2 separate regions of the Homo sapiens genome follow, and region 1 is linked to region 2. Evidence: promoter capture Hi-C in 16 types of primary human blood cells and fetal thymus (Javierre and others, 2016). All regions are on one chromosome and are shown on one strand. The core of a region is centred on a gene start or on the middle of the fragment in contact, and the rest is flanking DNA. Distances in the headings are between cores, read along the strand shown. Region 1 holds the start of PTPN18 (protein tyrosine phosphatase non-receptor type 18). Region 2 holds the start of PRADC1 (protease associated domain containing 1).

The links. Contacts are between HindIII fragments. The CHiCAGO score rates a contact against its expected background, and 5 or more counts as called.
Region 1: a contact is called between the fragment with the promoter of PTPN18 here and the fragment with the promoter of PRADC1 in region 2, in 1 of 17 cell types (total B cells). The highest score is 6.6, in total B cells.

The regions. Positions count from the first base shown.
Region 1 is chr2:130,351,818-130,357,953 of GRCh38, forward strand. PTPN18 (protein tyrosine phosphatase non-receptor type 18) reads left to right here and starts at 4,239. Exons shown (of 15, transcript NM_014369.4): 1 at 4,239-4,383. The coding sequence starts at 4,291. RefSeq lists silencers at 3,819-4,488, 4,629-4,678. The HindIII fragment of the contact is 15,291 bases long and covers 2,504-6,136 here.
Region 2 is chr2:73,229,578-73,235,286 of GRCh38, forward strand. It overlaps PRADC1 (protease associated domain containing 1), which reads right to left and starts at 3,662. Exons shown (of 5, transcript NM_032319.3): 1 at 3,517-3,662; 2 at 536-636. The coding sequence starts at 3,583. CCT7 (chaperonin containing TCP1 subunit 7) reads left to right here and starts at 4,731. Exons shown (of 12, transcript NM_006429.4): 1 at 4,731-4,807. The coding sequence starts at 4,802. RefSeq lists a silencer at 3,709-3,918 and enhancers at 4,206-4,737, 4,379-4,428, 4,549-4,618. The HindIII fragment of the contact is 3,259 bases long and covers 1,443-4,701 here.

The sequences.
Region 1 (6,136 bases), core at 2,989-5,488, about 57 Mb after region 2:
TGGTCTTTTCTAAATAAAGCACCGCATACAGAGGAAGTATGCTGAAGCTGGGCTAGCATCAGGTGTAGAAACTGCAGGCTGAGGAGGCAGCAGCCTGACCCGGCCTGTCAGTCATGGAAGTCCCAGAGTGCTGCCAGCGTTGCTGTTAGAGCACTTGTCTGCCCGAGTTTATTTCCTCCAGGGGCACATCGGGGGCCTGCTCTGGGCCATGCAGATGCCCAGGCTCTGCCCTGGAGTAGTGGGGGAAAAGTTGGTATGAGCATTTTAAAGATGGGGAAGAGGGCTTTCCCCTCTATTCCTAGTGGTTTCCCCTCCTTTCTGAAGCAGAATTGCAGGACAGCTCCCGAGGGCAGCAGGTCAGCCTCCACAAAGAGCTGGGGGTTGTGGGGTTTGGTGGTAGCGCTGAGAAGGGGTAGGGTGGCTTTCTCTTTGGCCTCTTTCTCTTTGGCTTTCTCTTTCCACCGCGCTGAGCTGCTGACCCTTTCCCATGGAGCGATCAGGAGGAGTCTTTGATTCAGAACACTGAAACCTGGCACGCCTGAGGAGAGTTAGAGGAGACAGGAACAAAAGCTCTCCCAGAGGACTTAGAGCTCTCAGGCATCGGACGGGAGGGGGACACAGCCACATGCTTCCTCTTGCACTGAAGAGGGTTGCCTTTTTCCTGTTTGCTAAATGCCAGACTTGTGGATGGACCAACAGGACAACTTGCCCAGCTTGAAGGTTTTTAACAGAATGAAGCAATGGGAAAATGTTTTCAAATTTATGCCCCCCCTTCCACTTTTGTTTTAACTTAGAGGAGGGAGTAAGGAGGTGGGCGTGGCAATATCAGAAAGGGAAACTAGCAGTGTAATAATAATATTAATAGTACCAAGTGTATACTGCAAGCCAAGTGCTGTTCTATCTAAATGCTTTATATACAATGATTTCCTTAAATTCTCACAATAAAGCAACAAGAAGAGACACAGTCCTACAGAGGAGGAAATTGAGACATAGAAATTAAATGACTTGCCCAAGGTCATACTGAGAAAGTCATGGTGCCAGAATTCTAACTCAAACATTTTGGTTCCAGTCTTCTGCCCTTTTTTTATTTTTATTTATTGATTTTTTTTTTTTGAGGCGGAGTCTTGCTCTGTCGCCCAGGCTGGAGTGCAGTGGCACAATCTCGGCTCACTGCAAGCTCCGCCTCCCGGGTTCAAGCCATTCTCCTGCCTCAGCCTCCCGAGCAGCTGGGACTACAGGTGCCCGCCACCACGCCCGGCTAATTTTTTGTACTTTTAATAGAGAACGGGGTTTCACTGTGTTAGCCAGGATGGTCTCTGCCCTTTTTTAACTAAGCAAAAAAGGAAGCTGGAGAAGAACTGTACCCTGGAGATGCCAGCAGTCTCCAAGGAGCTCCCCGCAAGCATCCCAGAGGAAGGGGTGTCTGCCAGGGGTCTCCACTGTAGTTTCTCTTTTCCCCTTTGCAGGCTCAGAGCAGGCTGAACTCACAGCCTTGTGCACCTGTCCCTGTGCATCTTCCTCTACCTTGTCCTCTTGGCTCTGTTGAGCGGCCCATGTAGCCACACTGACTGGTGGGCAGGTGACAGACTGGCACATGGCACGTGGGCTTTGGTACACTTGGGGTCTCTGTAGCAGTGCCAGCAGCTCCCACTGTGCAAGACTGCTGCTGGCAGCGTGAACAGGAGGGCCACCAGCAGCAGTGAGTCTCATTGCAAGAACACAGCTGGCAGTCCTCCGGGAGAGAAAAGCCGGGGTGGGCCAGGGCCTCTGGAAGATGTGGGGTCTTCCCATCCCCCACACCTAGCCTGAGCTGAACAGAGGGCAAGCTAAGAGTTTGGATGTTTGGAGAGACATGAGGAACGGTCAGGTGTCAGGAGGACAGGTGGGTTAAACAACAAGGTGGGGCTTGGAGTGAGGGTGAACACGAGGACAGAAAGACACTCAAGGCAGCTGGAAGTACAAATGGCAGACTACAGCCTCAGCCACTTAATGTTCACAGGCCACAAGGCAGCATCTGGCTAGTCACTCAGATCCTCTAATAGACAAACCACCAAACACACACACACACACACACACACACACACACCCTGGCTGGACAGACTTCCAGATGGACAGAATCCCAGGGAAACACCCAGCTGGACAAACAGACAGATTACTGACAGATGGGTAGACCCTCAGCCAGACATCCAAATAGGCCTGTGGCCAGAGAGACACCTGGGCCCCCCAGCCAGGCAAAGGTCAGAATCCCTCAAGGACAGGTGCCCTCCCCAAAATGGACAGAGACATTACCCCAGAGGAGAGAACACCCCACCCACCTAGTCAACCAGACCTTCAGCTGGACGACATGCCCTCCACCAGTCAGACAGACCTCAGCCTATGAGGACAGGCCCTCAACAGGATCCCTGCTGCTGGACAGAGATCCTCTAGCCCATAAAGACTGCCCTGAATAACCATGTGTGCTCAGGGGCTCACATTTTCCCAGAAAATGTCTTTATTTTCTGAAAGCTTACTGATGCTTCTGTATTCTACCTCCCTGGATCTCCATGGCCATCCACAAACCCTCAATGATTATACTGAGAGTCACTATCATGCACTGAGCAGAGCTCTCAATGACTTCCCAGACTCTTCGGACCCTTCAATTACTAACACTCCAAATCCCAATGGCCCCACAATTACTTTCACTTCTTGTCCCAAGTATCCACTGGCCTCCCAATGACTGTCATTAATATCTACTGACACCCCCCCCCCCATGAACATCCAAGGGACCCCGACTGGCTTCCAATGAATTCCCTATCACCACCATCCTAAACAATTACCTCCCTGAGAATGCTCAAAGATGAAACTGATAAATGATGAACATGAATCTCACAGTGACCCCTGCGGACCCCACGATAAATCAAACAGCCCTAGCTGCTGATCCCCACAGAGCCACTTTGATCGCTCCATCACTTCAGCCAAGGTCAGCAAACGACAGCCTGTAGGCCACACACACACACTAGAATAATTCATGACACATGAACATTACATGAAATTCTGATTTCTTTGTCCATAAATGGTTTCTTTGGGACACAGCCACACTATATTGTCTGCTTTCATGCTGCCACAGCTGAGTTAAGCAGCTGGGGCAGCGATAGCAAAGCCAAAACCACTTCCTACCGGGACCTTTAAGAAAGTGTGCCCTTAAATACTCTGATAGCCCCTAGTGAATTAAATTGACCACCTGACATCATGCCCCTGTTGACCCTTCAGAGACTCAGGCACACATCCAGGCCCCAATGCTACCTTTCAACCCCTCAACGACCTCAAACTGGTGTCCACTGACGCCCCTTCCAGTGACACCCCTCTTAATTCTTCCGACCTCGGCGAGAAGGGGGCTAACCTAGGCCTGTCCTTGAAGAGACCCAGGTGCCAGTCCATTCTCTCCAGCCTCCCCTCGGTGATCCCGGAAGCTGGAACGGCGGCTCTCCTCTGACCTCTGCACACTTTCTGAAGATGGGAGTGTCAGGGCAGGCAAAAAAGAGAAGCTCTTCGTTCCCCAGAACCCACTTCCAGTGCCTCAGTTCTGTTTCCCAGCAGGCTTGTGCAGGTCGAGATGCTCACACAGGACTGACCCTGGTGCCCCAGCGCATCCGGGAAAAAGGAACCACAAATTCCTCGGGAAATACACAGAGAAGATCCCGCTGCCACTTGGCCTTTCCCACGGCGTGGCTGCCCCTCCCCGGCCTCCCTTGGGCCCGGCTGGAGCGCACAGCGCGGGACGCCCCCGACCCGGGGTCCTCTGGCACGAGGGGCAGCCTGATCTCGGCGACCGTCTCCACCCAAGGCTGCTGCCCGCCCCAGCTCGGACTCCGCGCGGCCTGGCTCCCAGGGGACGGGCGGGAGGGCCCGGCGAGACCGCTCGGCCGTCCACCCAGAGCCGGCACCCGGAGGTCGGCCCCTGGGCGCGGATCCCGATCTGAGGGCGGGTCCCAAGCGGCAGGGAGCGAACCTGGGACCGTGCCACCCCCCCACCAGTGGGCGCGGCAGCCGAAAAAAAGGGGAAGCGCCGGCGCTGGACTCTGCTCAGGGCAGCCCGCGAGGACCTAGGGCTCCGGCCACAGCGGCCCGAGCGCCCGGGGTGGGGCTACGCGGGCTCAGAACACGGTGGCTGGGGCGCCCTGCCCGCCGCTGCGCGCTTCCATTGGCTGCCGAGGCAAGGGCGGGGACTCAGTCACCGGCCTCCGCCTCCCGCGGCGTCCACACTCGCCGCGCGCGCGGCGGCCGGGCTGGACCTTGCTGGCCCGCGGCGCCATGAGCCGCAGCCTGGACTCGGCGCGGAGCTTCCTGGAGCGGCTGGAAGCGCGGGGCGGCCGGGAGGGGGCAGTCCTCGCCGGCGAGTTCAGCGTGAGTGGCACACGGGGTCCGCGAGCGGCGCGCCCCGGCCCTGGCCCTGCGTACGCCTGTCCTCCGCGCACGGCGGGCTCTGCCTTTCTGTCTCGGTGTCCCCGGTGTCTCCCCGCCTCGGGGGGTCTCTCCGTGTTTCTCTCCCCAGCACTTCTCTGTCGCTCTTGCTGTCTCCGTCTTCACTCTCTGCCCCCCGGCCCCGGAGCGCGACGTCCACGGCCAGGCCGGGACGGACCGTGCACACCCTCGTTCCCGGTGTCCTCGTCGCGCTCCCGGAACAACCTGGCTGCGGGCGGGACAGGTGGGGCGGGCGCCGCAGGGGAGGGCGGGCGGCCCTGCTGCGCTGGACAGCCCCGGCCCCGCCGCTTCTGGCGACCTGACTGTCCCCTGTGACCACAGGAAGGAAGGGGCTGCAGCAGGGCGAAGAGGAACACGGAGGCTGTGGCGTGGTGAGGGTGTGAACGCCGGGCTCGAATCCGCGTCCGGGCCCGAATCCGCTTCCCGTCCCGAATCCGCGTCCCGGCCATCCGCGTGTGGTCCAGGCGGTCTACCTGGCCCCTCTGACCTCGGCTTCTCCCTTGGTGAAATGGGGACATGAATGACCAAACTGGTCTAAGGATTAAATGATGTGGGTGAAAAGCACTTAGTACATATTGGGCGCACACTTCGTAGGGGCGTTCGTCACTGCCTATAAAGATTCTAAACGTGGGCCAGGTGCGGTGGCTCACACCTGTAATCCCAGCACTTTGGGAGGCCGAGGTGGGAGGATCGCTTGAGCTCAGGAGTTCGAGACCAGCCTGGGCAACACAGCGAAACCCCGTCTCTACTAAAAATACAAAAATCAACTGGGCATGGGCGCATGCCTGTAATCCCAGCTACTAGGGAGCAGAGACAGGGGACTCGCTTGAACCTGGGAGGCAGAGGTTGCAGTGAGCTGAGATGGTTCCACTGCACAGCTGAGATGGTGCCACTGCACTCCAGCCTGGGCCACAGAGTGAGATCCCATCTCAAACAAAACAAAACCAAACAAAAAATCTAAACGTTACAATACAGGTAGTGCAAGCCCAGCATTAGGAAGGCTCACGCAGAATGCTAGGCACTGTACATTACAGTTGATGACGTGTTTAAAGTGTAATCGCTTATGTACCAGACATAGAAACATACCATACAAACGCATAAACTGATATATGGTGACATGTATCAAGTTTAGAAATATGACAAATATATAAAAGTATTATAAATGACCGTTTATACAATAAACATTGCATAACTGCATAAAACAATACAACAAATGAATATAACAAAGATTATAATTTATAAAATGACCAAAGTTATTTGATAAATTCATAAGTAGATATAAAATATGTAACAGATGGCCGGGCACGGTGGCTCACGCCTATAATCCCAGCACTTTGGGAGGCCGAGGCGGGCGGATCACGAGGTCAGGAGATCCACACCATCCTGGCTAACACGGTGAAACCCCGTCTCTACTAAACACACAAAAAATTAGCTGGGCGTGGTGGCGGGCGCCTGTAGTCCCAGCTACTCGGGTGGCTGAGGCAGGAGAATGGCGTGAACCCGGGAGGCGGAGCTTGCAGTGAGCCGAGATCGCGCCACTGCAGTCCAGCCTGGGCAACAGAGCGAGACTCCATCTCAAAAAAAAAAAAAAAAAAAGTAACAGATAATTATAAACCTAAGTAATTTACACACATGTAGAAACATTGTATATAAGAAACTAAGAAATGCATAATAA
Region 2 (5,709 bases), core at 2,412-4,911:
ACATTTAACATTTGGACAGGTGAGAGTGTAATGAGACACACCTGCTTTAGGACTGGGCTGACAATCCCATCTTATTGGCACCTTATAAAGTGTGAAGGAAACATGGAGTGGTTTCTGTATCGCCAGACACTTAAACATTTTTACTTAATTCTCGCAAAGGCCTATCTGGTTGTCCTACACCACCCTACCCTTCTATGAGATAGGCAGGGGACTTGGTTGTAGATCCAGAGAGAGGAAGTGATGTGCCTTAAGTCACATAGTTCACAGGTAGAGCTGGCAGAGGAAGCTGGTGCTCTTGGCTTTTCACTTCATGTCCCCTAAAAAGACAACTTGTCCCTCCATGGTGCCTAGGTTTATATTATACTCAGGGGAGTAGCTGGAAGAGCTTCCTTTCTGTGCTGCAGCTCATGGAAGGCAGAGCTGATTCTGCTCCCTTCCCTGTCCCAGCACTCAGGTGGGATGAGAGGGTCACTGCAGCTCAGTGAGGGGAAGGGGGAGGTTGAGGATCAGAGATCAGGGGCCTCCCTTAACTTACAAAGATACCACCAAAGTCCTTGGCAGGTGTGGCTGTGAAGATGTATCGAATGTCCCCAGGACTCAGCACTTGAAAGTACAAATAATCATGGATACGGAAGCCTGAAGGATAAAGAGTACAGGTAAGAAGCCTCCCAGGAACAAGCTGGTTCAGGTTCAGATCCCAGACCCTGTGTCTTCAGCTGGGCTGGCTATAGTCTGGGCTCAGGGTCCTGGCTTCAGCCAACGGGGTCCACTAGTGGCAGGGTTGGGGGCTAGATGGCCTCTGTCCTGGGGAGGATAGAGTTGATGCAGAGTCATTAACCCCAGAGGCTTATATCAGCTGCTGCTGCTGCTTACGCAGTAAGCCAGGAAAACTGAGAGCTCCAGGGTTAGTATTTTTGCTCTGAAGACCTGGGAGTTTCAGGGTAGAGATGTAGTGGCCTGCGTACAAAGCAATTCTCACTAAAATTTAAAAGTTGACTTTCTGGTCCCACTGCCATCCCCTTAAGTCTAGTCACTATCATCTCTTGTCCTGACAGCTCAGCTTCTTACCTGGCCTCCCTGCCTCCATTCTTGCTCCCCAAGCAACAACCAGAAATCGAAAACATCTTAGCAATTATGAGCACATCACCATACCTAGGGTTTCAATAACTGCCCTTTGCATTTAAAATTTAAACTCTTTTTAAACTGTGGCCTACAAGACCCTGTTTGCTGTGGCCCCTGGCCACTCTTCCAACCTCATCTCCTCCATCCTGTGTTCAAGCTACACTGGCCTTTCAGTGTCTTCACTTCTCTGGGTCTTTCTGCAGGCTGTTCCCTGAGCCTGGAAGGCCCCCTACTCCCACGCCACCCTACTTCCACCCCTTTACCTGACTCTTTCCTAGTCATCCTTCAGGTCACACCTTAAATGTCACTTCCTCAGAGAAAGCTTCTGCCTCATGATTGCCCTCCCATACCCATTCAAATGTACTTTTTAATAAATGGGGACTTTCAACATAATTTGTAATTATACAGCTTTCATAACTTTTCTTTTTTTCTTTTTTTGAGACGGAGTCTCGCTCTGTCACCCAGGCTGGAGTGCAGTGTTGCGATCTAGGCTCGCTGCAAGCTCCGCCTCCCGGGTTCACGCCATTCTCCTGCCTCAGCCTCCGGAGTAGCTGGGACTACAGGCGCCCGCCACCACGCCCGGAGAATTTTTTGTATTTTTAGTAGAGACGGGGTTTCACCGTGTTAGCCAGGATGGTCTCTATCTCCTGACCTCGTGATCCACCCGCCTGGGCCTTCCAAAGTGCTGGGATTACAGGCGTGAGCCACCGCGCCCGGCCTCTTTTTCTTTTTTTTGAGACAGGGTCTCACTTTATCACCCAGGCTGGAGTGCAGTGGCGCCATCTCGCCTCACAGCAACCTCCACCTCCCAGGCTCAAGCGATTCTCATGCCTCAGCCTCCCAAATAGCTGGGACTACAGGCGTGCGCCACCATGCCTGGCTAATTTTTTTTTGTATTTTTTAGTAGAGAGGGTTTCGCCATGTTGACCAGGCTGATTTTTTTTTTTCATTTTTTAAATAGGAATGGGGTCTCGCCTTGTTGCCAGGGCTTGTGATCCTCCCACCTTGGCTTACCAAAGTCCTGGGATTACAGGCGTGAGCCACCGCACCTGCCCTGGATTCATAATTTTTAAATATCTGCCTCTTCCACTTTGTAACTTCATTCAGTGAAGAGTCACCAGTGTCTTGCACAGTGGCTACAATATAGGGATAGCCCTATAAACTTTCCTGAATGGGTGAACAACTATATCTAGCTCCACAGCACCGATGAAGAGAATTTCCAGACCACTAGATTTTTCTGGGGCATGGGATCTTCTCCTCAGCACCAAAGTTTAATGTTGTACCTGGACTTGAGTCCCTGGTTTCCTTAACCCAGAGAGACTGCGGAATGTTGAAAGATAAAAACTGCTGTCATGGGCGGGCGCGGTGGCTCACGCCTGTAATCCCAGCACTTTGGGAGGCCGAGGCGGGCAGATCACGAGGTCAGGAGATCGAGACCATCCTGGCTAACACGGTGAAACCCCCGTCTCTACTAAAAATACAAAAAAATTAGCCGGGCGTGGTGGTGGGCGCCTGTAGTCCCAGCTACTTGGGAGGCTGAGGCAGGAGAATGGCGTGAACCCGGGAGGCGGAGCTTGCAGTGAGCCGAGATCGGGCCACTGCACTGCAACCTGGGCGACAGAGCAAGACTCCGTCTCAAAAAAAAAAAAAAGAAAAAAAGAAAACTGCTGTCACAAGTCTGTTAGTCTATCAACAAACTACCAAGTCACTACTGTGTACCAAGGATGGCATTAAGGCTTTAGCTGTCTTTGTTTACTGCCCAAATCACAGCCATCAGTTAGAGCTCCCATGGCTTGGCACTGGGCTATACAGTCCTGGGAGTGGGGACTCCCTCTCGGATACAAATACACCCCCAGAAAGCCTTCCTGGACTAGCGTCAAACTCACTCCCTCCTCCCCAACCCTTGCTTGCCTTTGTGTGTGCTTATTTGTGTAAGTTGTGGGTATACGTATGTGCTCACTTATGTGCATAGATGTATACATTTATGTGCTTGTGTAGGTGTAAACGGTTTGTGCGTGTGTGCCCACGTGTAGGAATGTGTGCTCCTGTGTACATGTGAATGCTCACATACATATCTCCAGCCTGTAGTATCCTTCCTTAGCTGTCCCTTCTGGTCGCACCCTAAGTCACCTGGGTCGGCGCTAGTGGGCGGGGAGGGGCGAGTGGGGAGATCTGCTTTGTCGTGGGAAGGTGAGGAGTCAGAGCTTCAGCCTCAGGCTGCGCCCACTTTATGTCCTTGGACCACCACCCACTTATTCCGGCCGCCCGCTCCCAGACCTGTCCTGCTCTGAACTCGCAGGGTCCCCAAGGTGACCCTTGGCCCCCAACCCGAGACGCGCGCAAGCTGGACGGCCAGCCCCGCCCTGCAACGCAGTCCCACCCGTTGCCGCTCACCGTGGGCCGCGACGCACGCGGGGAGCCAGAGCACGAGACAACACCAGCCCGCGGCGCCGGGGACCATCTCCAGGGCCGGGCCCGGCCCGGCGCCGCGTTTCCTCTCGCCGCCCCGCCGCGCGTCGCTCGCAGGACTTCAGCCTGACAGCTGCTCCGGCCTCCCGCCCACATACCCGCTCTCGCCGCGGGCTGGACGACGGGAACGAGGCTCAAGGCTGATTGGCTCTGACGCCTGCTCATGTAGCCACACTTTCCGCCTCTGCGCCTTAGCCTACTTCCTATTGGTCGAGAGAAGTGGAGCCGGGGGCTGATTGGCTTAAACTCTTAACAGCTACAACCGGCCTTCGCCTCAGCCCCGCCCCAGCATACTCTCCGGGTCCTCGCTGGCGGTGGGCGGGCCAGGGAGGACAAGCACTGGAGGTGTGCCCGTAGCCGGACTTGCTTCAGCTGTCGATAGTCGAGGCCGTTAACCCTTGCGGTCTCGGTCCTGTCCACTCCAAGGCCGCCTCGATTGACGACGATTAGCCTTCTCCCAGCTGCGCTTCCCTCCTCCCAGCTGCGCTTCCCTCCTCCCCACGCCTTCACGGGAAGGCACTCGTCTTGCGCCAGGGGGTCTTCCGCCCAGTGCCACCAACGCTTGCGCGCTCACCGTGGATAGGCGCTGGGGCCGCGGCCTGGCGCACGCCATCCACGAGGAGCCTCTGGCCAGTGCAAAGCCAGAAAACGGGCATTGGGGGCAGCTTCCCACGCTCGTCCCGTTGACACTGACTATGTAACTGTGACACTGGACACCTTGACCTCTCAGCCTCCTTTCTGTCATCAGTAAAATGGCCTTAATAGGACCAACGCAATAGGGTTGTGAGGATTAAATGAGATCGCTCACGTAAAGTGCTTTGGCACCAGCCTATCCCACACTTTGCGTCCCACACTTTTGCCTTTATTGCATTCCTTGGTCTGGCGTCCGGGGATGGAGGAGGGTGGAATTAAGTTAGTAGGTGATGCGGGCCGAGCAAAGACCCTCCGTGCTCTAAGAAGCACGACCGAAATGCGGCGACCCCTCTTTAATGAACGCCCCTCACTAGAGAGTCCCCGAAGCCCAGCCTCAGGTCCTTCTAGCCGCACCGAGTCGGTGGTAACGAACCATAGAGTAGCGGAAGTGGTCCGTTCTCTTCCTCTCCCGGCCCAAGCTTCTGGGTATTTCTATTGCGCGAGGCATTGTGGGTTGCTGGGCGGCCCGGTCTCGGAGAAGAGGGGAGAGTGGCGGGCCGCTGAATAAGCTTCCAAAATGATGGTGAGTGGCGTCTCGCGCATCCGTCGCCATCAGCTGCCATCTGGCCGGTGGCCGGCGCCGCTCGGCCTGGGCTTGCTCTGTAGGACCCTCTTTTGCTTGCCGCCTCTGTCCTCGCCCAGATCCCCAGCTTAGGGGCGACCCCAGCCAGCCGCGGCCTGGCTCGGCCCGAGCACGGCGCTGGAGCCGTTGGCGAGGGCTGCGTGGGGCTTTAGAGGAGTCTCTGGGCTGGCCGGTTGGGGACTACAAGTCCCAGGGTGCTTCGGGCCCGCGAACCCACGTCGGGGACCTCTTTTTTAGCCCCGCATGATCGGGACTTGCGTGAAACGAGTGCAGGTCGGCCGTGGTTACGCGGTCGGCAGCTAGACTTGGAAGCTGGGGCTGCTCTGAGATTTGCGGGCTGTAAAGACGTGTGCTTCTTGGAACCGGCACAGGCACATTGGGGACCTCATATTGTGCCCGCCTAGGGACTCACTATGTTCACTCGCTGACCCTCACCGCAGCGTGCAGAGAAGCAGACGCCTTCCCTAGTACTTTTAATTCATTCACTCATTCGCTCAGTCATTAAATAAACGCGTCTTTAGTGCCTACTGAATGTACCAGGCCCTGGTGGTTGCTGGGGGTTGCAGCCTCTCAGCCAGGAGAACGGGAAAGGTAGATGGAGACACTGTATCGGAGGTGGGAAGACCCAGGCTCGGACTCTGGTGACATAAGAAAGGCTTTTCTAGTTGGCTACCTAACTCTGGGTCTCGTTTTCTTGAAATTTGGGGCGAGGGAGTTGCTGTGAGTCCTGGAGCCACCTAAAGTGCTCCTTGTAGCCCTACTTCCCACACTTCTTTTCTCTGTCTCTCGGAGCTTTAGATACTTTCCGTGGGTCCCAAGCCTCGATGGTATCTCCTGGGTTG